Linked DNA regions of Homo sapiens: regions 1, 2, 3 and 4 are each linked to region 5. The links are contacts of gene promoters, found by promoter capture Hi-C in blood cells and fetal thymus (Javierre and others, 2016). All regions are on one chromosome and are shown on one strand. The core of a region is centred on a gene start or on the middle of the fragment in contact, and the rest is flanking DNA. Distances in the headings are between cores, read along the strand shown.

Region 1 (4,710 bases), core at 1,393-3,892, 1.3 Mb after region 5:
GCTTAAGCCTGTTTGGTGAGGAGACATCTGTGGCACCAAAAGAAGATAGCTCAGGCAGATCCTGCAGTTGCTGATTCTTCAGGATCCTGGGAAGAGTTCCTACTCAGCAGTATTTCCTAGATCCACCTTATGACATTACCGACCTTGCTAAGGCTCTCGCCTGCCCAGGAAGAGTGGGCAGCCCTAGTGAGGGGCCGTTAGGGCCAGGGGTAGGAGGTACCAGCAGTTGGAGACAGGGAAGACTGACTGATCTCTCGGGGATTTGTCCCTCATCCTGGGGACCATCTATCCTGCTGGGTGGTGGCTGGCAGCCTGTCCAAATGTATGAGCCACCAGAGGGTCAAGTAGACGCAGGGCAGGACCGTCTTCTGGGAGATGTGTCCCCCTAAATTCTTCTGTCACTTCAGACATTCCAGGTAGAAGGAGGCCCTTTGACCTGCAAAGCCAGCCAGAGAACCAGGAACAGGGCAGGGAAAGAGCATGCTAGCCTGAGACGGCTCACACCCAGCTGGGGCGTGAGGAGCAATGTCTGTGGCCCCAGGCACACCTCCTTTCTCCACCCTGTCACCTTATCTCTGAGACATACTGTGCAGCATATGTCCAAGGCCCATCTGGGCACATCCTGCCTTTGGAATTCTGTTTCGCCACTTTGAAAATCTGCCCAGCCCACTTTGGGGAGGTTGTTTGAGTCAGGTTTCCATGATCTCTCAATCAACCCTCAGCACTGACCGGTGTCCCCTCAGAGGGGACCACTGGCCACATCTGGAGAGCAATGTGTGTGTTTAATAGTGAGGCAGAGCAGAGGGAGCCCGTCTTCAGGGATTGCCAGATGTCTCTCTTGTCCTCTTCTGGGGGTGTCAATTGTTGATTTTCATCACCCCGGTAGGAGAGCCTGGAACACAGAACTCTTGGGGCTCGTTCCTGGAGGCTGAGAAATGCCACTGCGTAGGGACAGCTGCCACCCCCAGAAAGCAGTTTGCTCTTTTCCTTAGTGAAGAGATCCTCCCCCTGCCCCCCCATATTGTGCTTACATACAGGTTGATGCATTTCCCTCCCAGGAAATTCCACCGTGCCCCCGGCATCACAGATGTCTCCAGACCTGCTGGTTGGGAGTTTCCAGCTCCTCATCCACAGCCTGTCCTATGAACTTGCATTTCAGATTTAGGACAGTGAAGGCAGTCTCAGGTCAAAGGTGTCAAGAGAGTTGAAAACATTCTAGGCCCTTTAGGTTCTTTCAGGGAAAGGCCTCGGCTCCTGTGTTTGCATGTGTTGCTGCTATGTGCCACAGCTGCTCTCCAACTTTAACCCAGACTTATCAGCCACCCCCCATTTCTCCCTGCCCTGCCAACCTCTTCATCACCAAGGGCACATAAGCAGCTGCCTACAACAAGCATACAATCATTCAGTCAGCAACTAGATGCACTGTAAGGAATCTTGGGAGGTATTAAGTCAATGGCATCCAGGTCTTTTGATGGTGACTCACAGTGAGAATATATTTGACACATTCCCATCACGCACGGATGCACCTAATGGAATCTTGCATTTCAGTATCTCAGCTGGAGCCAGCCAGGCCAAGAGGTATTCCGTCCAGGGAATCTCCCTGACATGTTTTCCTTGGATGCCATTCTCTACTCTTGACCATGTTGCTGGCAGTTTCTTGGGTCATTTCTCCATGTCGGTGGATGGATTATTGTGCAGCTAAATTTCCAGTGTGAATACATTGCACACTGGTAAGTTCTAGTCTACTTCAGTCTGTTCTCATTCATTAAAATATTGATTTCACAATCCCTAGTGTGTCGGCCTGCAGTCTGAGAGGCACAGTTGCCTTTTAACCTCCTTTTGCAGATGAAGCCATCAACTTGCTGGTCCCTGGTGCAACCCCCACCCTGAGGAGAGACACTGCTGCCTTGATCTTCTGTGAATCCACCCTTGTTCCTGGCACAGTGACTTTGAGTCTTTACAGACGTGCAACAGCCTTTGTTGAGTGAGACCTCACATTCTTATGCCTCCAAGCCTTGCTCTCATTCTCAACTAGTCAAGCCCTCCCTATTATATTTCCTCTTAGACAAGTCACCCCTACTCTTGCACTTCCAGCTGTTTGACCTTGTGCATCGTACATGTTAAGCTCATCCTGCCCTCAACCTTCTCTGAATGGCTGTACCCCTCAGGGTTTGTACCACCCTGTGGGCAATTAGTTAGAGCTCTCCATGTTATCTTCCTCTTCTGAGACCCTCTTAGCTTCCTAACTAGTTTGGAAAACCTCCTTGAGTATGGGGACTGGTTTATTCACAACCTATCAGAGTGCCTGCATGCACCAGGCACTCAAGAAGAGCCAAAATGGGTTAAAGCATACACTTTTCCTGACTTCTAGGATAGGTGGTTGTGCATGAGTTTGTATTCCCCAAAAATCAATTTAGGGAATGTCATCTCTTAAGAAGCTTCCAATGTTTCTTTTGGTTTTGTGTTGACTGTGTTTCATTTTGTCAGGAACATGAAGGTCTATCACCCCCACCATCCTATTTTGCTGATGGGGACATGAAGGCACAGGGTGGTTGATGGATTTGTCAAGAGCTCCTTGTCTCTACTATTTCCATGCTTTTCCTTATTCACTAGATTCTTCTTTCTTCATCAGGGGGACAGGAGACACTTCTGCTACTCCTCCAACCCAATTCTGGACCAGAAAGCTCTGGACCCCAGGAAGCCACATGCTGTGCTAGCTTGTCTGGAGCCTTTCCCCCCAACCCCCTGAGGGGCCCGGGGCCTCCCTCCCTTCACCTCCAGCCACACCTTTCCTTTCTTCACAAGCCTAAAAAGCTAGTCCTTCCTCAATATAAAGTACTTTCAGGAAAGCTTCTAAAAACAGTGTGTCTTTAATGTTTTTTAATGTAACCCACTGTCATCAAGGCATTTTACAAGGAGACTTTCTAGATACACACACATATTGGCAATGAACCAAATGTTTCACCACATAATACTAACATTTGTGACTTTTGATGCACTCTGATATTTCCTATTGTGCTACACTGTGCAATTCTTTTAAAGGGCTGACCAAATTGATGTCACGACCTCCTAATGGATCTAGGTCTGCAGTTTAAACACTCTACTCCAAAAATTCCAGCAAGAACAAAAATCTCAGCCCTAGATTTGCCAACAGTGTCCTTTTCTGGGACTTTATTATAAGGCTTTGCATAAAAAATTTGTTAATTGTTAATATATGGATGTGTGCACTGAGTCTCACTGGAAAACATATTGATGACTATTGGTTACAGCCTAAAAAGAATGCTTGAAAGTTTTCCTGGTGAGGAAAGGCCAAGCTAAAAAAGGGAGTCGTGTGTGTGTGTGTGTGTGTGTGTGTGTGTGTGTGTGTGTGTGTGAGAGAGAGAGAGAGAGAGAGATATGGGTGTGGTCCCATCCCCCTAATGAGATGCCACATGCTGTGCAGATGTTTTATAATATTTGATCTCCTCTTCTTCCCAAAATCATGTCCAGAGGAGAAATTCCATGGATCTGCCCCTGCCTCCCCCAGACCCTTCCCCAAACCTTGGCTGGCCTGGGCAGAGGACTGCAGAGCTCACATCTCTGTGGGGAACAGGCTGGACTCCCTGTGGGACTCAGGGTCTTCACTCACCCTTACTTCACATGTCTCCTCCTGAGACCCCTTGTCCTGACACACTACAGGTCTCTGGCTGTCTCAGGAGTGGCACGTAAAATGTCCGAGATCCAGACAAAAAATCAGAGACTGCCAACCCTCCTGCCCTTCCCTCAGCAAGTAAGGCATCACATACACATGCAGGCATGCACACGAGCACACAGGCACACATGCACATGTGCACACCAACACACTTGCTGTGGCCTTTTTCCTCCTAAAATCACTGAGGAAGCCATGGAGCCACAAAAGTGTTAAGATTAGGGTGAGGGTTTTACGTGGGAGAAGGGTGTCTGATTTGGATCCAAGAAGATCTGAGTTCTGACCCCCACTCACTCTAGCCCAAATCACTTAGCCCACCCTATGCCTCAGTTTCCCTTTCTATGAAATTGGGTTAACACATGCCCTGCCTGACTCAAAAGCTTCTTGTGAGTCACAAATATAGTAACAGATGAGATGATGCTTTGAGTATGCAAAGAACCAACTTGAAAGGAGGGTCCTGGGCCATACGATATAGGGCAGTGTGGCCCTAGAGAGAAGGCTGTCCCTCCCCTCCATTGTAGACAGCTGGGCCTTTGGGCCTTTGTTTGGCACAGCTGAGAAGTTCCTGATATCTTCTTCTGATAGTGTCTTTGAGCAAAGGATAGTGAGCCTGAGGCCCTGCTGAGCCTGAATCCCACCTGAGCTCCAGATCTTCCTATGCCAGGATGTGCCTTGGGAGGTAACACTTTCCCCACTGGGATGGGGGCTTTTGCTCACCTAGTCACAACTTCTTGAGGTGTGAGCTAAGTGTTCTTCCTTTTCCTAGCAGTGCTCAGCTCAGTACCTCCCTCCATCTTTCTTTCTATAGACCCTGCATGCTGGGGGCCACTTTATCCTCAAGCACCTGAGGGTACCAGGAAAAGATCCTGGCTTTGAGACACTCAGACAGGGGAGGGGCAGAGCTCTCTCGGGGCTACCCACCTGTATTTGTCTGTCCTTGTATTGCTATAAAGGGATACCTAAGACTGGGTAATTTATAAAGAAGAGAGGTTTCATTGGCTCACAGTTCTGTGGGCTGTAGA
Region 2 (4,396 bases), core at 309-2,808, 1.3 Mb after region 5:
GACCCAAATGGAAAAACACACCTTATGTTCACTAATGAAATGTAAAATAGAATTCATCATTCTCCATGTGATGACAAAGAGCACAAAAGCAATGTGAAAATTAACTTAATTGGAAATATTGTAAAATTATTTTCAATATCATACGTTAAATTAAGGCGTTGCTTTGATTGCTAAGTAGATAATAGAAAAAGCCGAAGTGGTAAGCCTTGTTAGAATTTGTGCAAATGCTTTACAAATTGCTGATTTTCTAGTACCATCACAACATTTAATAGTGGTACATTTAATAGAAAGGCAGTTCAAGTTGAAATAGATGACAGTTAAGTAGATGTTTTGAACAAGTTGTTCAATAACTTCTCAAACTAAATTTCATCTTCTGTATCCAGAGAGCTAAAAATATATTCCCTAGGATCTAGCACTTTCCTTACACATAGTTGGTAGTCAGTAAACACTTGTCAAAAGTAAGGGAACAGATGAATACTACAAGATAATGTAGTGGAGTCTAAGCTGGTATTGCTCACTGCAGGACAGTCAATAAGTCACGAGACAAGGTGTTGGGGCAAGAGGGCAATAACTCAGTTTATCTGCTCAACCGAGAAGATGATGGACTAATGTCCTAAAGAACTGTCTTAAGGCAATGTGCATTTCCGGTCCCTTTATTGTTAAGGGAAGAGGGTAGAAGGAGATGGAGTTCAAGAGGTGACTGATGGTTATAGGCATCTGGGCAGCAGAGAGCATCTGAGAGGGAGTTGGAAAACTTCTTTGTCCTTGGTCAGGTCACAATGCTCCTATAAATCTTTAATTATATATTTCTTATTATTATTTTATTTTTTCATATACCGAGTGAAAGCTAGGATCCCATAAATCTTTAAAATAACATTGTTCCTTGTATGTACACACTCCTTACCTCCTTGGAGGTTAGTTTTGGGAAGGAACTAGCATCCTATTATCCTTGCTTTAAAGTTAAACTACAAACTAAATTCCTTCCATCATATCATTTTCTTGGCCTTCATGCAGAGATAATAAAAATTAGTTAATCTAAAAGGTACCACCTGGAGGGGGAAGGGGGGTGTTAGGAGCAAAATGGAGTTTGTTGAGCTAGGCCTCCTTTTCACTGTTACAAAGATGCTAGGAGAAAAGTTATCTCCTTGGCACTGGAGAGAAGTCTGGGTGCAAAAGAGAAACAAATTGAAAATCAGTTGTGATTCTTCTAGGATTCGTTAATTTCATCCTCCCAATCTCTTTTGCCAGTCCAATCCTCTCCCAAGAAGTCCAGATTCCAGCTCTTACTGGACGCCTCCATTTCAAATAGTGCAGCAAACAGGTTAAGAATACAGATGCTGAACCAAGACAGCTTAGGTTCAAATCTCCAAACCCCACTGACTTTAGCTGTTTGACCACAGGCAAGTTACTTTACTTCTTGATATCTCATTTGTGAAATTGAGTCAATAATAGCATATCTATCTTAAGCTGTGCTGGAAGGATTATGTGACTTAAGACATGTAAAGCATTTTAGGATAGTGCCCACATACCTGTGATAGACAGCTTCAGACATAGCTCCCAGTGGTCTCCACCTCTTGGTGATCAGCCCTTGTATAATTCCTTCCCCTAGAGTGTGGGCTGAGCCTAATGACTTGCTTCTAATACATGGAATTTGGCAAAAGTGAGGGTGTGACAGTTAATTTTTTAATGTCAACTTCATGAGGCTGAGGGATGCCCGCATAGCAGGTATAATATTATTTCTCAGTGTATCTTTGAGGATATTTCCGTAAGACATTGGCATTTGAATCAGTAGACTGAGTAAAGAAGATTGCACTCACCAATGTAAGTGGGTATCATCCAATCCATTGAGGACCCAGATAGAACAAAAAGATAGTGAAAGGACAAACTGGCCAGGTGCTGTGGTTCACACCTGTAATCCCAGCACTTTGGGAGGCTGAGGTGGGCAAATCACTCAAGGTCAGGAGTTCAAGACCAGCCTGATCAACATGGCGAAATCCTGTCTCTACTAAAAATACAAAAATTAGCTGGGCCTGGTGACGGGTGCCTGTAGTCCCAGCTACTCAGGAGGCTGAGACAGGAGAATCGGTTGAACCCAGGAGGTGGAGGCTGCAGTGTGCTGAGATTGCACCACTGCACTCCAGCCTGGATGACAAAGCAAGACTCCCTCTAAAAAAAAAAGGACAAATTTACTCTGTTTCAGCAAGGACATCCATTTTCTCCTGCCGTTGAACATCTTTGCTTCTGGTTCTTAGGTCTTCAAGTTTAGGGTGGAACTACACTACTGGCTTTCCTGGCCCTCCAGCTTGCAGATAGCCTCCGTATCACATGAGCTAATCCCTCATAATACATCTTGATATAGATATAGATATAGATATAGATATATACACACACACACACACACACACACACACACACACATATACATATATATCCCATTGGTTCAGTTTCTCTGGAGGACCCCAACTAATACGGATTTAACATGGCTTCTGTGATTAGGTTACTAAAGACTGTGACTTCCATCTTGCTAGCACTGTGTCTTGCCTTCTCTGATGAAGTCATGCCATGTTGTGAGCTGCTCTATGGAGAGGTCCATGTGGCAAGGAACTGAGGGAGACCTCTGGCTGACAGTTTGTGAGTAAATGAAACCTTAGTTCAACAACCTGCAAGAAAGTGAATTCTGCTGGCAACCACCCAAGGGAGCTAGGAAGACAATCCTTCCCAGTTGAGTCCTAGAACTGCAGCCCTGCAAGAGTCCCAGAGCTAGAGGACCCAGCTACTCCACAACTAGATTTCTAATCTCCAGAAACAATGAGATAATAAATGCTGCTTTACGCCACTAAGTTTCAGGATAATTTGTTATACAATACTTAAGCATTCTATAAACGTAAGCTAGTAACAGACATCTCAAATTCCACATCTCCTCCCCCACTATTCACACCTCAGTAAAGGGAAAACCACCATCCATCCAAGTTGATCAAACCAAAAGCCTAAAAAATCATTTTTAATTATCTTTTTCTCAATGCCTTCTCCCCTAAATAGACCAACTTCAATGAATATCTGAGTAAGAGTGCTTCAAGAATAGAAAGTTCAAAAGCCCTTAAGCCAAAAATAAACTTGGGTTATTTTAAGACAAAAGAGAGACATGTTATAGAACTGAACTTCGATCTACTCACCTGGCTCAGTAAAGCCAATCACTGACACTGGGATAGCAGTGAGAGAAAGTGAGGCACTGATTGCAGGGCGTCAAGCAAGCAGAATCAGGGCAGCTCAAGCTTAAGACCTGAACTCCCGGATGGCTTGCAGGCTGGGATTTTTAAAAGCAGGGGTAGATGTAACCTCCATGTATTGTTTTATGATTTTGCCTGTAGCACAGGCAAAAGCTACAGGCAAAATTGTAAATCAATGCATGGAGGTTACATGTTGGCTTAGGCCTAAAAGGGCGGGATATCGTGAAGCAGGCTTACATGTCATAGGTAGATTCAAAGACTTTCTCATTTGCAATTGGTTTAGGAGGAAAAGCTTTTTAAAAAAAAAAACTGGGATCAGCAGAAAAATGTCAAGCAGAATGATATAGTTTGGCTCTGTGTCCCCAGAGCCCCCAGGGGACTGTGACATTCTCTAAGCCCCTCTGGAAAAATTTTAGGACAAAGAATGTGGTCAGAGTTCAGTTTTCAATTTCCACTTATCTGAGGTCTACAGGCCAGCAGATCCATTCAGTGAGGGCCCTGAAAGACAACTCAGGGACATATGTTAAGATGTTATCTTTAGTTTCCATAAGGAAAGCAAACATCTCTGGAACTCTAACTTCCTTGGCTATTGCTTTAGACTACTATTACCTTTTTGTTTGACAAATTTCTTATTTACTTCTGGGGCTAGCTAGGTTCCTGGAATTTCCCTTTAAGGAACTCCAGATTTTTCTTTATTTCCATGCTTGGGGTTTTCAGGCCTCTAGAGAGGGGGCTCCTGCTCCATCTCACCCCAATGCCCTCAGTAATCTCGCCCCTTGCTTTCCTCTCTAATTCTGTTTTTATATCATTCTCCCTCTTACTAGCAGTTCTAGCCACACGGGTTTTTAGCTGTCTAGTCGTTTTTGTTTGGCACCCTACAAATAAATGCTTTTCCTTCTATTGCTGCAAAACTTCACTGTAGATATCTGGTTTTACTGTACCGGGAGAGCAGACCCAAGTTTGGTTCTATAATAGTAATGTAATTTTCATCTATTATAAGTCAAAAGATATCATATCTATTTGTAAGTCAAAAGATATTCATTTGTTTAGGGAAGAAATAGTGGACATCTTCCTCATAATTTAATTCCAATGTAGAATTTACATTAACCTAACATTTTTAATAATGTTAAAAATTCATTAAGAATCTTCTTTAGATACTAAGGCACATC
Region 3 (4,450 bases), core at 1,357-3,856, 1.3 Mb after region 5:
GGCCTCAAGTGATCTTCCCACCTCAGACTCCCAATATGCTGGAATTATTGGCATGAGCCACCATGCCCGGCTCAAAATAATAGTTTTGAGAAAACGCAGTGACCTCCAAGATAACACAGAAAACAAATTTAGAAATTTATCAGAGAAATTTAACAAAGAGATTGAAATAATTTTTTAAAAATCAAACAGAAATCTTGGAATTGAGCAATACATTTGCTGGACTAAAAAATTAATTACAGGCCCTCAACAGCAAAATGCATTGAACAGAGGAAAGAGTCAGTGAGCTTAAAGAGAAGCTATTTAAATATTCACAGTTAGAGGACAAAGAAGAAAAAAGAAAAGAAACAGATCACCTACAAGATACAGAAAATTACCTGAAAAGACAAAATTAAACATCATTGGTATTGAAGAGAGAGTTGAGGAAGGGCGAAGTGTAGAAACCTTATTCAAAGAAATAATAGAAAACTTTCCAAAACATGAGAAAAAGATAAATATTCAGGTACAGGGAAGTAAAAGAACACCAAATATTTTTTACCCAAATAAGACTAACCTAAGGTTATATAATCTTCAAACTCTCAAAGGTCAATGACAAACAGAGGATCCTTTCTCTCTTTTAAGAGAGGATCCTAACAGCAGCAAGAGAAAAGAAACAAATAACATACAAAGGAGCTCTAATTCATCTGGCAAGAGACTTCTCAACAGAAACTGTATAGGCCAAAAAAGAGTGAGATGACACTTTCAATGTGCTGAGTGAAAAAAAGCAGACATCCAAGAATATTTTATCCAGCAAAGTTATCTTTCAGATATGAAGGAAAGATAAAGTCTTTTCCAGACAAACAAAAGCTGAGAGAATTCACCACCACCAGACTCATCTTACAAGAAATGCTAAAGGTAATTACTTATTCTGAAAGGAAAAAACATTAATGTAAATAAAGAAAACATTTGAAGATACAAAACCCATTGGTAAAATCAAGTATACGGACAAACCCAGAGTAGTCTAATACCATAACTGTGTATTTATATACTTATAAATACTTATAACCCTAGTATGAATCCAAAAGACAAACCTATTAAAAACAATAATACCTACAGCAACTTGATAAGAGACAGGCAATATAAAATAAGTAAATTGAGGCAATATAAAGTCAAAATGTGTGTTGCAGGAGTGGAGTTAAAGTGTAGAGGGTTTTTTTCCTTGTTTGCTCCTATTTTTTGTGTGACCTAAGATAAGTTGTTATCTCTTTAAATTCACATGTTACACCTATGAGATGTTTTTTGTAAGCCTGATGGTAACCACAGTACAAAAACCAACAACAGATTCACTAAAAATAACAAGTGATCAATTAAAACATACTACCAGAGAAAATAACTACAAAGAAAGACAGTAAGAAAAGGAAGAAAGAGAGGAGTTACAAAACAATCAGAAAATAAGGAAGAAAATGGCACTAATAAGTCCTACCTTTTCAGTAACAACACTGAATGTAAATGGACTCAATTCTATAATTAAAAGGCATAGAGTGGCTGAACAAATAAAGAAATAAGACCCAACTATATGCCGCCTATAAGAAACCCACTTCACCTATAGAGACACAAATCAAAGATTGCAAAGAGACAAAGAAGGTCACTACATAATGACAAAGGGGTCCATTTAGCAAGAGGATATAATAATTAGAAATATCTGTGCACTCAACACTGGAGCTTCCAAGTATATAAAACGAACATTACTATCTCTGAAGGTAGAGATAGACTACAATACAATAATAGTAGCACATTCGCCACAACCGTAGAGCAAAGAAAAAAATTTTCATCTCATGACAAGATGAGAAAACTCATTTCAATATATTCAGAAAATCTTTTTTTTTTTGAGACAGTCTCACTCTGTTGCCCAAGCTGGAGTTCAGTGGCACAATCTCGGCTCACTGCAATCTCCACCTCCCAGGTTCAAGCAATTCTCCTCCCTCAGCCTTCTGAGTAGCTGGAATTACAGGCATCCATCACCATACCTGGCTAATTTTTGTATTTTTAGTAGAGACAGGGTTTCACCATGTTGGCCAGGCTGGTCTCGAACTTCTGACCTCAGGTGATCTGCCTGCCTCAGCCTCCCAAAGTACTAGGATTACAAGTGAGCCACTGCACCTGGCCCAGAAAACATATTTGATAAAACAAAAATTTTAAAAATTTTAAAACCCATCAGGTTTATTCATAGGATTCTAAATTTTATATGAAAAAGCAAAGGACTTAAAATATCCAAGACAACCTTGGAAAGGGATAATAAAGGTGGGGCACTTACACTACTGGACTTAAGACTTATTCTGAAGTTACAGAAATCAAAACTTTACTGGAGGTACTGGGATAAAGATAAACAAGTAAGTCAATGGAATAAATAGAGAACTCCCAAACAGATGCATACCATGGCCATTTGGTTCTTGACAAGGTGCCAATGGGAAAAGAAAATTCTTTAAGAAATAGTTCTGGAACAACTAGGTATCTCTCTACAGAAATAAATGAATCTCTACCCTTGCCTCACACCATACACAAAAATTAATTCAAGTGGAGCATAGACCTAAACATAAAAGTTATAATTATAAAGTCTCCAGATGAAAACAAAAGAATATCTTTGTGAATTGGACATAGGTAAAAGTTTGTTAGGATATAAAAAGCAATAAATGATAAATGAAACCTCATAAAAATAAAAAAAAATTCTGTTCTTCAAACACACTATTAAGAAAAAAGACAAGACATAGGGAAATATTTTGCAAGACATATATCTGACAAATAACTGATAAACAGAATATATTTTAAAAAAACTCCTGACCAGGTGGGGTGGCTTACACCTGTAATCCTGGAACTTTGGGAGGCCAAAGCAGGCAGATCGCTTGAGCCCAGGAGTTCAAGGCCAGCCTGAGCAACATAGTGAGACCCCGTCTCAAAAATAAATAAATAAATAAATAAATAAATAAATAAATAAATAAATCTCCTTAACTCAATAACAAAAAGACAACCCAACTTTTAAAAATAGGCAAAACATTTCAATAGACATTTTACAAATTAATATATATGAATGACCAACAAGAACATTAAAAAGTACTTAACATCATTAATTGTTAGAAAAATACAAATTAAAACCACAATGAAAAACCACTACACACCTACCAGAATGACTAAAAATAAAAACACTGAAACACAAAATGTTGGCCAGGATTTGCAACAACCTGAACTTTCATGCACTGTTGGTGGGAATGTTAAATTGTATAGTTACTTTGAAAAGATCTACCTGTTTCTTAGGAAACTGAATATACATATACCCTGTAACCAAGCTATTACATTTTTAGGTATTTGCCCAAGAGAAATAAAAAAAAATAGTCCACAAAAAGACTTGTACAAAAATGTCTGTAGAAGCTCTATTTATAATAGCCCTGAACTGAAAACAATCCAGGTGTACATCGGTAGGAAAAACTGTGGCAAATTTATAAAGTAGTACAAACTAATGTTAGATAAAATAGCATGAATAAATCTTGAAAATGCTATTTTGGTGAAAGAAGTATAACACAAAAGAGACATACTTTATGATTCCAATTTATGAAGTTAGATCCTTGTAAAACAGGCAGAACTAATCTATGATCTTGTATTAGTCAGGGTTTTCCAGAGGGACAGAACTAATAGGGTGTGTGTGTGTGAGTTTATTAGGGAGAATTGGCTCACACAATTACAAAGCAAAGTCCCATGATAGGCTATCGGCAAGCTGGGGAAGAGAGAAGCTGGTAGTGGTTCAGTCCAAGTCCGAAAGCCTCAAACTGGAGAGGCTGACGGTGCAGTCTTCAGTCTGTGGGCAAAGGACTGAAAGACCCTGGAAAACCAATGGTGCGAGTTCCAGAGTCCAAAAGCCAAAGAACCTGGAGTTTGATGTCCAAGGGCAGGAGGAGCAGAAGAAGGCATCCAGCACGGGAGAAAGAAGGCAGCCAGAAGACTCAGCAAGCCAGCTTATCCCACCTTCTTCTGCCTGCTTTGTTCTAGCCACACTGGCAGCCGATTGGATGGTGTCCACCCACATTGAGGGTGGATCTTCCTCTCCCAGTCCACTGACTCAAATGTCAATCTCCTCTAGCAACACGCTCACAGACACATCCAGAAACAATGCTTACCAGCTATCTTGGCATCCTTCAATCCAATCAACTTGACAACTAATATTAACCATCACAGATGACAAAAAGAAAATCAGACAGTAGATGCATCTAGAGGATAAAGGATTCAGGATTGACTAGGAAGGGTTATTTGTGGAGTTGCTAGACAAAATACAAGATGCCCAGTTAAACTTGAATTTCAGATAAACAATGAGTATTTTTTTTTTTTTGAGAAAAGGTCTCACTCTGGAATGCAGTGGTGTGATCATAGCTCACTGCAGCCTCAAACTCCTGGGGTCCTGTGATCCTCCCACCTCAAGCACCCAAGT
Region 4 (4,726 bases), core at 517-3,016, 1.4 Mb after region 5:
AGCTCAAGAGAAGGACAGAGGCTCTAGCAGCTGCTTTGCAGGTTTGCAAAATCCAGGATCCCCAAGGTGCATTCGCTAGTTGCTATTGGTGCGGCAGCCCAGGGCATTTTAAAAAGGAACCCCCAGGAAGCAAGACAAAGCCACCTCAACCCTGTCCAGGCTGTGGCAGAGACCACTGAAGATGGAACTGCCCCCAGAGATGGAGGCCACTGGGTTCAGGACCAGTCTCACAGATGGTCCCGCAGGACTGATGGGTCCTGGGGCTCAAACCCTGGCTTCAGTGGCTCAAACTGCCATTATAGCACAGGAGCCCCGGCTAATTCTGGAAATTAAAGGAAGGAAAGTAGACCTCCTTCTAAACATTAGAGCCAGTCTCTCCCTTTTCTCCTCTCTAATCCAGGCCTCTCCTCTTCCCATAGTACGACCGTAAGGGGTGTCTCAGGAAAAACTCTAATCCAATATTTTTCTCAACCATAGTTGTAGTTAGGAGGACCTATTTACACATGCTTCCAAGTCATAATAACTCTACTAGTCAGAAAAGCCTCCAAGTTAACCCTAGGAAATAATTTAACTGTTTACACTTCACATAATGTGTGAGGATTACTGTCCTCTAGGGGGAGCTCTTAGCTAACAAACAGCTGGTAAAGCAAGAAGTACATAAGGCAGGATAAGCAGTCGTCACTCTTAACGTCTCTCCCCAGGCACAAGTGCTGAATTAGCTGAGCTAATAGCTCTTACAAGAGCACTTAAATTAAGCAAGGGGAAGGTAGCTGCCATTTATACTAACTCCAAGTATGCTTTCTTAACTCTCCATACTCATGCTGCGATTCAAAAGGAAAGGCATTTTCTTACCACTAATGAATCTCCTATAAAATATTGCCAGGAAATTGGCAGGTTATTATCCTCAGTTTTTCTTCCACAAAAAATAGCAGTCATGCGTTATAGGGGACATCAAAAGGAAACAGATAAGGTAGCCAAAGGAAATAGAATGGCTAATCAGGCAAAGCTAAGTCAGAGGCAAGGAAGCTTTAAGGCATTAATGCACTTCAAGCCCTTCTAATCTAGGAAGGCTCCAAAAAAGAAATTAAACATCAGTATTCCCCTACAGAAATAAAATAGGATCACCTTTATTTAACCCAGGAAATTTGGTATTAGTACAAACTCTCATCTCTGTCTCCTTCCCTAAGCCAAGCTGGGAAGGGCCCTACACTGTTCTTCTTTCAACCCCCTCGGCAGTAAAAGTTACAGGAATCGACTTCTAAATACATCACACTCAAGTCAAAGCCTGAAGAGCTGAGGGAGCAGCCCCTAACAGCCCAGAGAAATATCCTGAATATCAATGCGGAGAAAGAGATCTTTTTCTTTTTCTTGTTGTTGTTGTTGTTGTTCTTGTTGTTGTTGTTGTTTTTGAGACGGAGGCTCCCTGTCGCCCAGGCTGGAGTGCAGTGGCGCGATCTCCGCTCACTGCAGGCTCCGCCCCACGGTTCACGCCATTCTCCTGCCTCAGCCTCCGGAGTACCTGGGACCACAGGCGCCCATCACCACGCCCGGCTAATTTTTTTTTTTGTATTTTTAGTACAGACGGGGTTTCACCGTGTTAGCCAGGATGGTCTCGATCTCCTGACCTCGTGATCCGCCCGCCTTGGCCTCCCAAAGTGCTGGGATTACAGGCGCGAGCCACCGCGCCGGGCCAGAAAGAGAAGATTTTAAGCTGAAAATCATAAAAGATAAGTAACTGAGTGAGGGCTACTCATCTTACTCAGTCCCACTCCTGCCTCACCAGATACTTTTTGCTATTTCTACCCTTTACTCTCAAAGTTCACCACCAAATATTAAAACTTCTTTTTAAAGCATATTTGCAGGCAGATTTTAATTATTCATAGAATCGCATTTGTAACTTTGTAGCTCCCCAAAGAGAAATGTTATATCTTGGTAAGTAAAGTTTTAAATGGAAATTATTCACTATGCCACTCTTGTAAGAACTGTTATACTCACGCTACTATTTACAATAGAACTACACACTGTAGCACCCAAGATGTGGAATTCTGGTTGTAAAATTCTAATTGCTGTAATATTTTGCCTAATTATCAACCTTATAACAGGATTGATAGTTGCAGGAAAGATTTAGTCAAAATTGTGTCGCTTATAGCAGGAGTAATAGTTGTGGATAAGAAGCAAGGATGAAAGTTTTACTATCATTACGTTTAATAGGACTTTTTCTGAAGGTTGGTAATATAATGTGCTCTAAGCTATAAAGAGAAGATTATAAAGGAAGATTTTATGTAAGAAAAGATTTTCATTGGTAAATACTTGTCCTAAAAGGAAATGACTGGTTGTTTAAAGGATGAATGCTTAGGGCAAGTCAGAAAGTTTAAGTATGTTGTAAGAGGGTCTGTGAAAGTCATGAAATTATTAAAGGAAAGGAATTGTCAAGATTAACATTAAAGTTATTTTAGCCACCCACTAATGTATTTCTCCCAAGCATATTGCAAGTTAGGAAAATGGCCTAAGCTTAAAGTTATTCTCTAATGGCAAGTCAAAGGGGAAATGTATGGTTTTCTCAAGGAAAATGTTTCTTTTATATTAATGTTTCTGGTAATGTACAGCGAGATACTGGTATTGCAATCCATGGTGTAACTAATAGGTATGAAACTCAGGGTCTATAGGACCCCCACTCACGGTGGTAATCTTAATACTCACATTCTAACCCTATATTTTAAATTTTCTTATAAAATTTATCTCTTTTCACCTGGAAGCAATCAAACTCCAAACGGTGCTGCGAGCAAAGCCACACGTGTTTGAAATGCTTGTAAAGAAATAGCACTTGAGCATCAGTTTATTTAGTAAGGCCATTTTTACTTCTTGCAGAAAGGGTACACTCGCCAGCAGTTTTGCCAGGAGAGTACACTGAACAAAGGAGACAGGGTCATTTATAACCTGACGCGTCCACCCTACTGCTGTGTCCAGTTTCCAATAGCTGGAATGGGACCTCACATTCTGTATTTGTCCCGATTGGCTAGCAACTTAGAACTTTTTAAAAGAGGCAAAGGTAGAGGAGAACAAAAGAAGGAGGAAGTAACTTGTGGAATGCTGGGAAAGGTAAAAACACTTTTAAATAAGGAAGAGGAACAGACTATGATCTAATGCTTGCTTGGACCAGTATAAGCATGCCAGGGCAAATATTTAGGCTAAATTGTGGGAGCTAAGAACATAAATTACATTGATTTCTTTATTATGGCTAGCAGATATTTAAGAATGTTAGCACAGGTCTTTGAATAAATTTTGCTTTTAAGAGAAGTTACTATTTATTTCTTATTAGACGGGGCGGAAAGTCTTTGAAGAGGAACCTCTACTTTACTTTTTACACATGGTCACGCCATTCTTCCAAGAACCCTTAGATAAACCTCAGGAGAAGGCACAACTGCTGTTCCCCACACAATACCCCTTTTCAGCAGGAAGTAGCCAGAAAGAATCGCCATCCAACACCCCCTGACAGCAGTTAGGTTTGCTTCTCTTGAGCGGGGGAATGATACAGGAGTTACTAAGAAATAATTTTTAGGCAGATAGAAAGGGTAAAAGGAATTCTCGGTAAGGCTTTTTCTTTTAATAAAAGCAACCCCAGACCTTTTCTTTTCTTTTTGAGACAGTCTCACTCTGTCGCCCAGGCTGGAGTGCAATGGTGCAATCTGGGCTCACTGTAACCTCTGCCTCCCTGGTTCAAGTGATTCTCCTGTCTCAGCCTCCCATGTAGCTAGGATTATAGGTGCCCGCCACCAAGCCTGGCTAATTTTTTTTTTTGTATTTTTAGTAGAGATGGGGTTTCACCATGTTAGCCAGGCTGATCTCAAACTCCTGACCTCAAGTGATCCGCCTACCTCAGCCTCCCAAAGTGCTAGGATTACAGGCATCAGCCACCGCACCTGGCCAAATCATTTCTTTTCTAACAGAAAGGCAAATTAAAGGGCCAGGCTGGCAAGCTTTGATATGCAAACGCAGGCCATTAGAAGCTGAGTCCACCCAATATGGTGATTCGTGCCTTCTTCTTGTCACCAGGTATGCCAAGTGTCATGGCCACCTCCAGGTAACTGCATGTGTTCAGGACATCAGAGCGGCCCACATTTGCACATTAAAAGGATAAGGTGGGAGGGCCGGGTTTTTCACGGGCTTCGTGAATGACACACCTGGTCAAACCAATCCCCTGGGCCCTCTGTGGGCGGCAAGCCACCCAGGTGACGAGGCAAGAGACTAAAAGCACAAGCTATTCCAGTATAATAAAGAAAATACTTAAAATAAGAATAGTTATATTAGGCATAGAATATAGATATGATTATATATGAATATTACTAATCATTAGTTTATAGCATTACTCTTTATTCTAATATTATAATAATCTTTGTTCTACAATTATAACCTAGGAAAAACCAGGACATACAGAGATAGGAGCTGAAGGGACATGGTGAGAAGTGACCAGAAGACTAGTGTGAGCCCTCTGTCACACCCGGACAGGGCCACTAGAGGGCTCCTTGGTCTAGTGGTAACGCTAGTGCCTGGGAAGGCACCCGTTACTTAGCAGATCGGGAAAGGGAGTCTCCCTTTCCCCGGTGGAGTTAGAGAAGACTCTGCTCCACCACCTCTTGTGGAAGGCCTGACATCAGTCAGGCCCGCCCGCAGCCATCCGGAGACCTAAACGTCTCGCTGTGATGCTGTGCTTCAGAGGTCACGCTCC
Region 5 (4,810 bases), core at 271-2,770:
AAATCCACAACTTACTCACTGAGGCTGTCCAGGCAGTGTGCTGCTGTAACAACCCGATCTTCTTGAATCAAGCTTCCTCCACAGAAGTGGTGCTCATCTGATTTTAGGGAGACCTACCCAAGAAGAAAGTTACAAATGCAGCTAATATGTCTCCCCACATATGTATCTCCATCGGAAACACTGGAGATCAACTTTTCTAATCTGACATAATATTCTTAAAATACCGACATAAATTGGATAGTAAGATAGTTCCTACGAAGTAAACTTTTTGGTAGAGAGCTAGAGGGGTTCAGGAGAAAAACTACATATCAACGTGCATTCTTGCTTTCGAAACAAAGGAAATATTTCACTGTTTTCTCATTAAGAAATCAATGCCTTTGTTGCACTGACCTGCCATGGATGTCCAGTCACTGTTGAATTTCTCCAACTACTAATTCTAGAGAAGAATCTAGATCCCACGGCAGGTTCCTTACTTTTCATGTTGACCATGCGAATTCCACACTTCAGTCCTGTGTAGAAGAGCATGTGTGTGTGCACACACAGAGCCTTATGTAAGAGTTCACTTTACCAAGATTTCCCATTTGGATTTTCCTGGCCTGGCACAGACATTCTGATAGCACTTAGCTGCAGACTACCACATTCTTCTCTCAATATTTTCTTCAGAATATCCCACAGTCACCTGGGTTGACCGGAATTTGCCTCCTGTCTGCTCCCTTTCAGCCTGTGTTACCACTGGGCAGGAAGGAGCCAGCGCTGCCTCTGGTAGGTGACTTGGGGCTTACTCTGGGAAGATGCAAATTTAGGTTGTGTTAAAGATACCAGGAGCCACATGCAGTGGTTCCCGCCTGTAATCCCAGCACTTTGGGAGGCCCAGGTAGGCTGATCACTTGAACCCAGGAGGTCAGAACCATGGGCAACATGACAAGACCCCATCTCTACAAAAAAATGTAAAAATTAGCCAAGTGTGGTGGTACGTGCCTATGGTCCCAGCTACTCAGGAGGCAGAGGCAGGAGGATCACATTAGCCCTGGAGTTTGAGGGAGCCGTGATCGCATCACTGCAGTCCAGCCTGGGTGACAGAGCCAGACCCTGTCTCAAACAAACAAACAAAACAAAAGATACTGAGGAATGACCTATACTACTCCGGAAGGGAGATATTTGTCTTTAAGTTACTTCTACTTGGTTAGGTTTCCTTGGAGGAGGCTCCTTAGTACACACATGATTAGCAGGTGTGCCTACAAACGAACTCTAAAATGCAAAAAATTTCAAAAAGGCAGTCTGGCCCAGACCTTCCTTTGGGGACATCTGAGCATGCACCACCCCCTCACCCTTTCTTCCCAAATGCCTCAGGTGTGGCTATACCACCCCGACTTCCTGAGGCAAGGAGTAATGAAGTCTTCCCTCTCCAGCACGCTCAGCCTCCTCCGCAGTCCTGGTGCCCAGGTCCCTAGGCTCACCTAGGCTTCTGGGGTGGCCGATGACCAGCAACAGCAACAAACCAGCACTGGCCAGCAGGCCCATAGCCTCCACGCACCGGCCTCGCACGTCCTCCCTCCCTGCAGGCTGAGAAAACTGTGGTGAAGGCGGGGGTCTCGCCCTTTATCCCCTCCTGCGGTGCCTATGGGCAGCACCTGCCGTGGCGCCTTGGTTCGCAGGTGTCCCTCTTCACGATCATTTGATCATTGTGAGCTGCCGCCGCTCTCTGGTCACCCCTGGTGTCACAGTGCCCCGCCACCCAGCCTTAGAGACTGGCACGAGGTGGCCCAAGGGGTGACAGTGGTGCTCACACGTGTGCAGAGGTTCCTGCTAGCAGATCCACAGCAAGCCAATCAGTGGCCTGGAACGCTTAGCCCTGCGAATTCCCAGACTGGGGAGTGCGGTCCAAGCTCAGGGGCAATGAAGCTGGTCCCCCACACGAAACACAGGCAGGACTTCTGAAAGGCGGAGGGTCAGGAAGCTTAGTACAATACTGCCCCTTCTAAGAAGCTTGTTGCCCTTGACCCTCTAGAGTTTTCAAAGAGTGAATAGGAAAGATCAGGCTTGAGCTGACATCATTTTCTGGGTGGCAGTACTGTCCTCCATTTCAGCAGAATGGCCCCAAAACTGTAGGATCCATCATTTAAGATGATTAAAATTAATCTAGTGGTGAGATATCACTTTTTTTCCCATGAATATTATTTTGTAATAAGTTAAGCTGAAGTTAGAAGACAAAGCCAGAATTTGTAATGGTCTTATATTTTGTCAGAAAATTAAGGCAAGGCTAAGTGGACATTCCATATATATCAAATAACCTGGCCACCAGTCCTTCAGCACCAGTTGGAGGATTTTACGTTCAAGTGCTCTATTTTACTTTCATGTAAAATAGAAATAAAAGCTTCTTGAGGTAGGAGGGTACATAAACTAATGGGGGCAGGTGGGAGATGAGCAGGTAGATGGGAAAACAGAAGGCAGTCAAGGTGGAGAGAATGCAGGCACAGGTACAAGCAGGTGACAATCTACTGGGGACAATGACCTCTGTGACTGCAGGAGAGAGCAGAGGGTAAATGGACACCATTTGAAGAAAAGACTAAAAAAAGTGAATGATGCCTGTCGCTGTGGCATCTTCAAAAGGTGTCCATTTACCCTCTGTGGCTAGTGGCTACCATATTGAACAGCACAAATACAGAACATTCTGTCATCACCAATAGTTTTATGGGACTGTGCTGTTCTTGAGAGTAGCACTATTTTCTTTTGAGTATTTATTTCAAGGAAAGACACCTCGGATGACAGTTTGAGTAGATGACTCCTTAGTTTCATGCCTGGGTGTCTAGGGGATAGGGGGTGTCCAGCATGCTCTTAAGGTAAGCAGCTCTTCTGTGAAAATAAAACATTGAACCTCCAGGCTTCAGTACTGTCCAGGGAATGTCCAGATGTGTGGCTACCTGAACAGTGGCCCTCACCACTTTCCTCCCTGTAGTCATCACACAGGGGTGACCATTTGAACCACCATGCCAGCTCCAGGGCCACACCGTTCTCCAATAAAAGCTCAGAGCCCCCACATGGACCCAAAGCCCTCTTTCTTTTTAGCAAGAGGTAAGATGAAACCCACCAAAAAGCCTTTACTAAACAAAAGGGTAAGGACTAGAAGGTGAACATGTGCTGTGCAAGAACGGTCAGGCCAGCAATATTCAAGTTGCTGGTCAAACCATGGCCAGCCCTTCCGTGAGGCTCACAGGTGCTGTCCCCTTTCACTCTTCTGCCCATGGCACACAGCTTTGCAGCATACTCTGTGGTTTCTTTGTTTCAAACCTGGGAATCTCCATGCGGTGGGGCACTGTCTCATTTCCTGTTACAGAACAACTCCCTTTGTTTCCAGAGTTCAAAACCCACAGCTTCAACTGAGACCCTATTCTTATATACAAAGGTTTAGTCCCTTACAGGCCTCACATAATAATGCCTTTCCATTAAGTGGAAAAAGAGCCATTCAATAAGAATTACACACCATTAATAGCCAGGCCATAGGCCAGGCGCAGTGGCTCACGCCTGTAATCCCAGCACTTTGGGAGGGTGAGGCAGGCGGATCACCTGAGGTCAAGAGTTCGAGACCAGCCTGGCGGCCAACATGGTGAAACCCCATCTCTACTAGAAATAAAAAAAATAGCCGGGTGTGGTGGCACATGCCTGTAATCCCAGCTACTCGGGAGGCTGAGGCATGAGAATCGCTTGAACTAGAAGGCGGAGGTTGCAGTGAGCCAATATCGTACCACTGCACTCCAGCCTGGGTGACAGAGTGAGACTCCATCTCAAAAACAAACAAACAAACAAAAAAAGCCAGGCCATTAGTTTTAGTTTTAGACTCAAATTTTCTAAAAAAGTAATGGTTTCAATATAAATTGAGTTTGTAGTTATATTAAAACATCCAAATGGAAGAATCCTCTTTTTATGTTTAAAATAACTTCAGAAAAGGAAAGGATACCAAGGAGAGGAGTGGACTGGACTACCCCCAGACAGTGGTGACTTGTGATGTACAGCAAATCTGTCTTTAATTTGGACATCTTCACTAGTATAGGACAACTGTGATCTGCTATTCGAAAAGCTTGGCTGTGAAGGGCAGACGGAGATGTGATAGCAGCTACAGATAAAATGAAACAGAGGATTTTTTTTTTCAAATTGTTTCGGTGTTGATTGCCTGTGTATGTGCTTTAAGAAGAGTAGAACTGACAAATTGACAAGAGCCAGCAAAAGGAAGAAGTAAAAAGATGAAGGAGAAGTTAAGGCATGGAATGAAGTTCCATAAGAGGCAAAATGCAGAACCTAGGGTCCTCTTCTTCCATTACGATAACAGGAGAAAAGAAAGGATAGAATTAGGTGCAGGTAAATGTATAGATGAAGTGCAGGGCATTGGGGGACAGCTGCTTTCTACCTTTTATTTACTCTGTGAAGAGAGAGGTGACAGCATCTAAGCATGATAGGGGAGCGGATCTGGAGTGGGTGAGTACTGAATTGGCACTGTGCGGAGGAAGGGAAAGAGAGCAGACAGGAAGCACACAGAATAATGCAATGAAATGAGTAAATGAAAGAATGAAGGAAGGAAGATGGTCCTTTTTAAAACATTGTTAAAACAGACACTCCTGGTGACATGGACATCAGTAGGTACTAACCATGAAGTACTTGAGAGATTGAAACCAGACATACTTATTTTAATCATATTTTATATAAAATAGACATTTACATAAATTTAATTTTGGAAAGACCTAGGCAAAGTATACATCATTAGACTCAATGGGAGAAATACTTTATGGAAGATAAATTCTAACGGGCACAGCCAAAG

The links. The method cuts DNA at HindIII sites, captures the fragments that hold promoters and counts their contacts. A CHiCAGO score of 5 or more calls a contact.
Region 1: a contact is called between a fragment that was not itself captured here and the fragment with the promoter of OVCH1 in region 5, in 8 of 17 cell types (naive CD4 T cells, activated CD4 T cells, naive CD8 T cells and 5 more). The highest score is 9.5, in naive CD4 T cells.
Region 2: a contact is called between a fragment that was not itself captured here and the fragment with the promoter of OVCH1 in region 5, in 3 of 17 cell types (total CD4 T cells, naive B cells and total B cells). The highest score is 9.2, in total CD4 T cells.
Region 3: a fragment that was not itself captured here is called in contact with the fragment with the promoter of OVCH1 in region 5 in 14 of 17 cell types (total CD4 T cells, naive CD4 T cells, activated CD4 T cells and 11 more); the score reaches 17.0 in total CD4 T cells.
Region 4: a contact is called between a fragment that was not itself captured here and the fragment with the promoter of OVCH1 in region 5, in 6 of 17 cell types (non-activated CD4 T cells, naive CD4 T cells, M1 macrophages and 3 more). The highest score is 8.5, in non-activated CD4 T cells.

What each region holds. Positions count from the first base shown.
Region 1 is chr12:30,827,367-30,832,076 of GRCh38, forward strand. No RefSeq gene overlaps it. Among named protein-coding and RNA genes, the nearest start is that of LINC00941, 34 kb to the left of the region's middle. The HindIII fragment of the contact is 412 bases long and covers 2,437-2,848 here.
Region 2 is chr12:30,787,680-30,792,075 of GRCh38, forward strand. No RefSeq gene overlaps it. Among named protein-coding and RNA genes, the nearest start is that of LINC00941, 5.8 kb to the right of the region's middle. The HindIII fragment of the contact is 3,423 bases long and covers 1-3,270 here.
Region 3 is chr12:30,808,148-30,812,597 of GRCh38, forward strand. No RefSeq gene overlaps it. Among named protein-coding and RNA genes, the nearest start is that of LINC00941, 15 kb to the left of the region's middle. The HindIII fragment of the contact is 7,474 bases long and covers 1-4,450 here.
Region 4 is chr12:30,846,757-30,851,482 of GRCh38, forward strand. No RefSeq gene overlaps it. Among named protein-coding and RNA genes, the nearest start is that of LINC00941, 53 kb to the left of the region's middle. RefSeq lists enhancers at 1,583-2,127, 4,576-4,726. The HindIII fragment of the contact is 1,485 bases long and covers 1,025-2,509 here.
Region 5 is chr12:29,496,166-29,500,975 of GRCh38, forward strand. It overlaps OVCH1 (ovochymase 1), which reads right to left and starts at 1,521. Exons shown (of 26, transcript NM_001353179.2): 1 at 1,458-1,521; 2 at 391-509; 3 at 16-113. The coding sequence starts at 1,521. TMTC1 (transmembrane O-mannosyltransferase targeting cadherins 1) reads right to left here. Exons shown (of 18, transcript NM_001193451.2): 18 at 4,675-4,810. The HindIII fragment of the contact is 1,885 bases long and covers 71-1,955 here.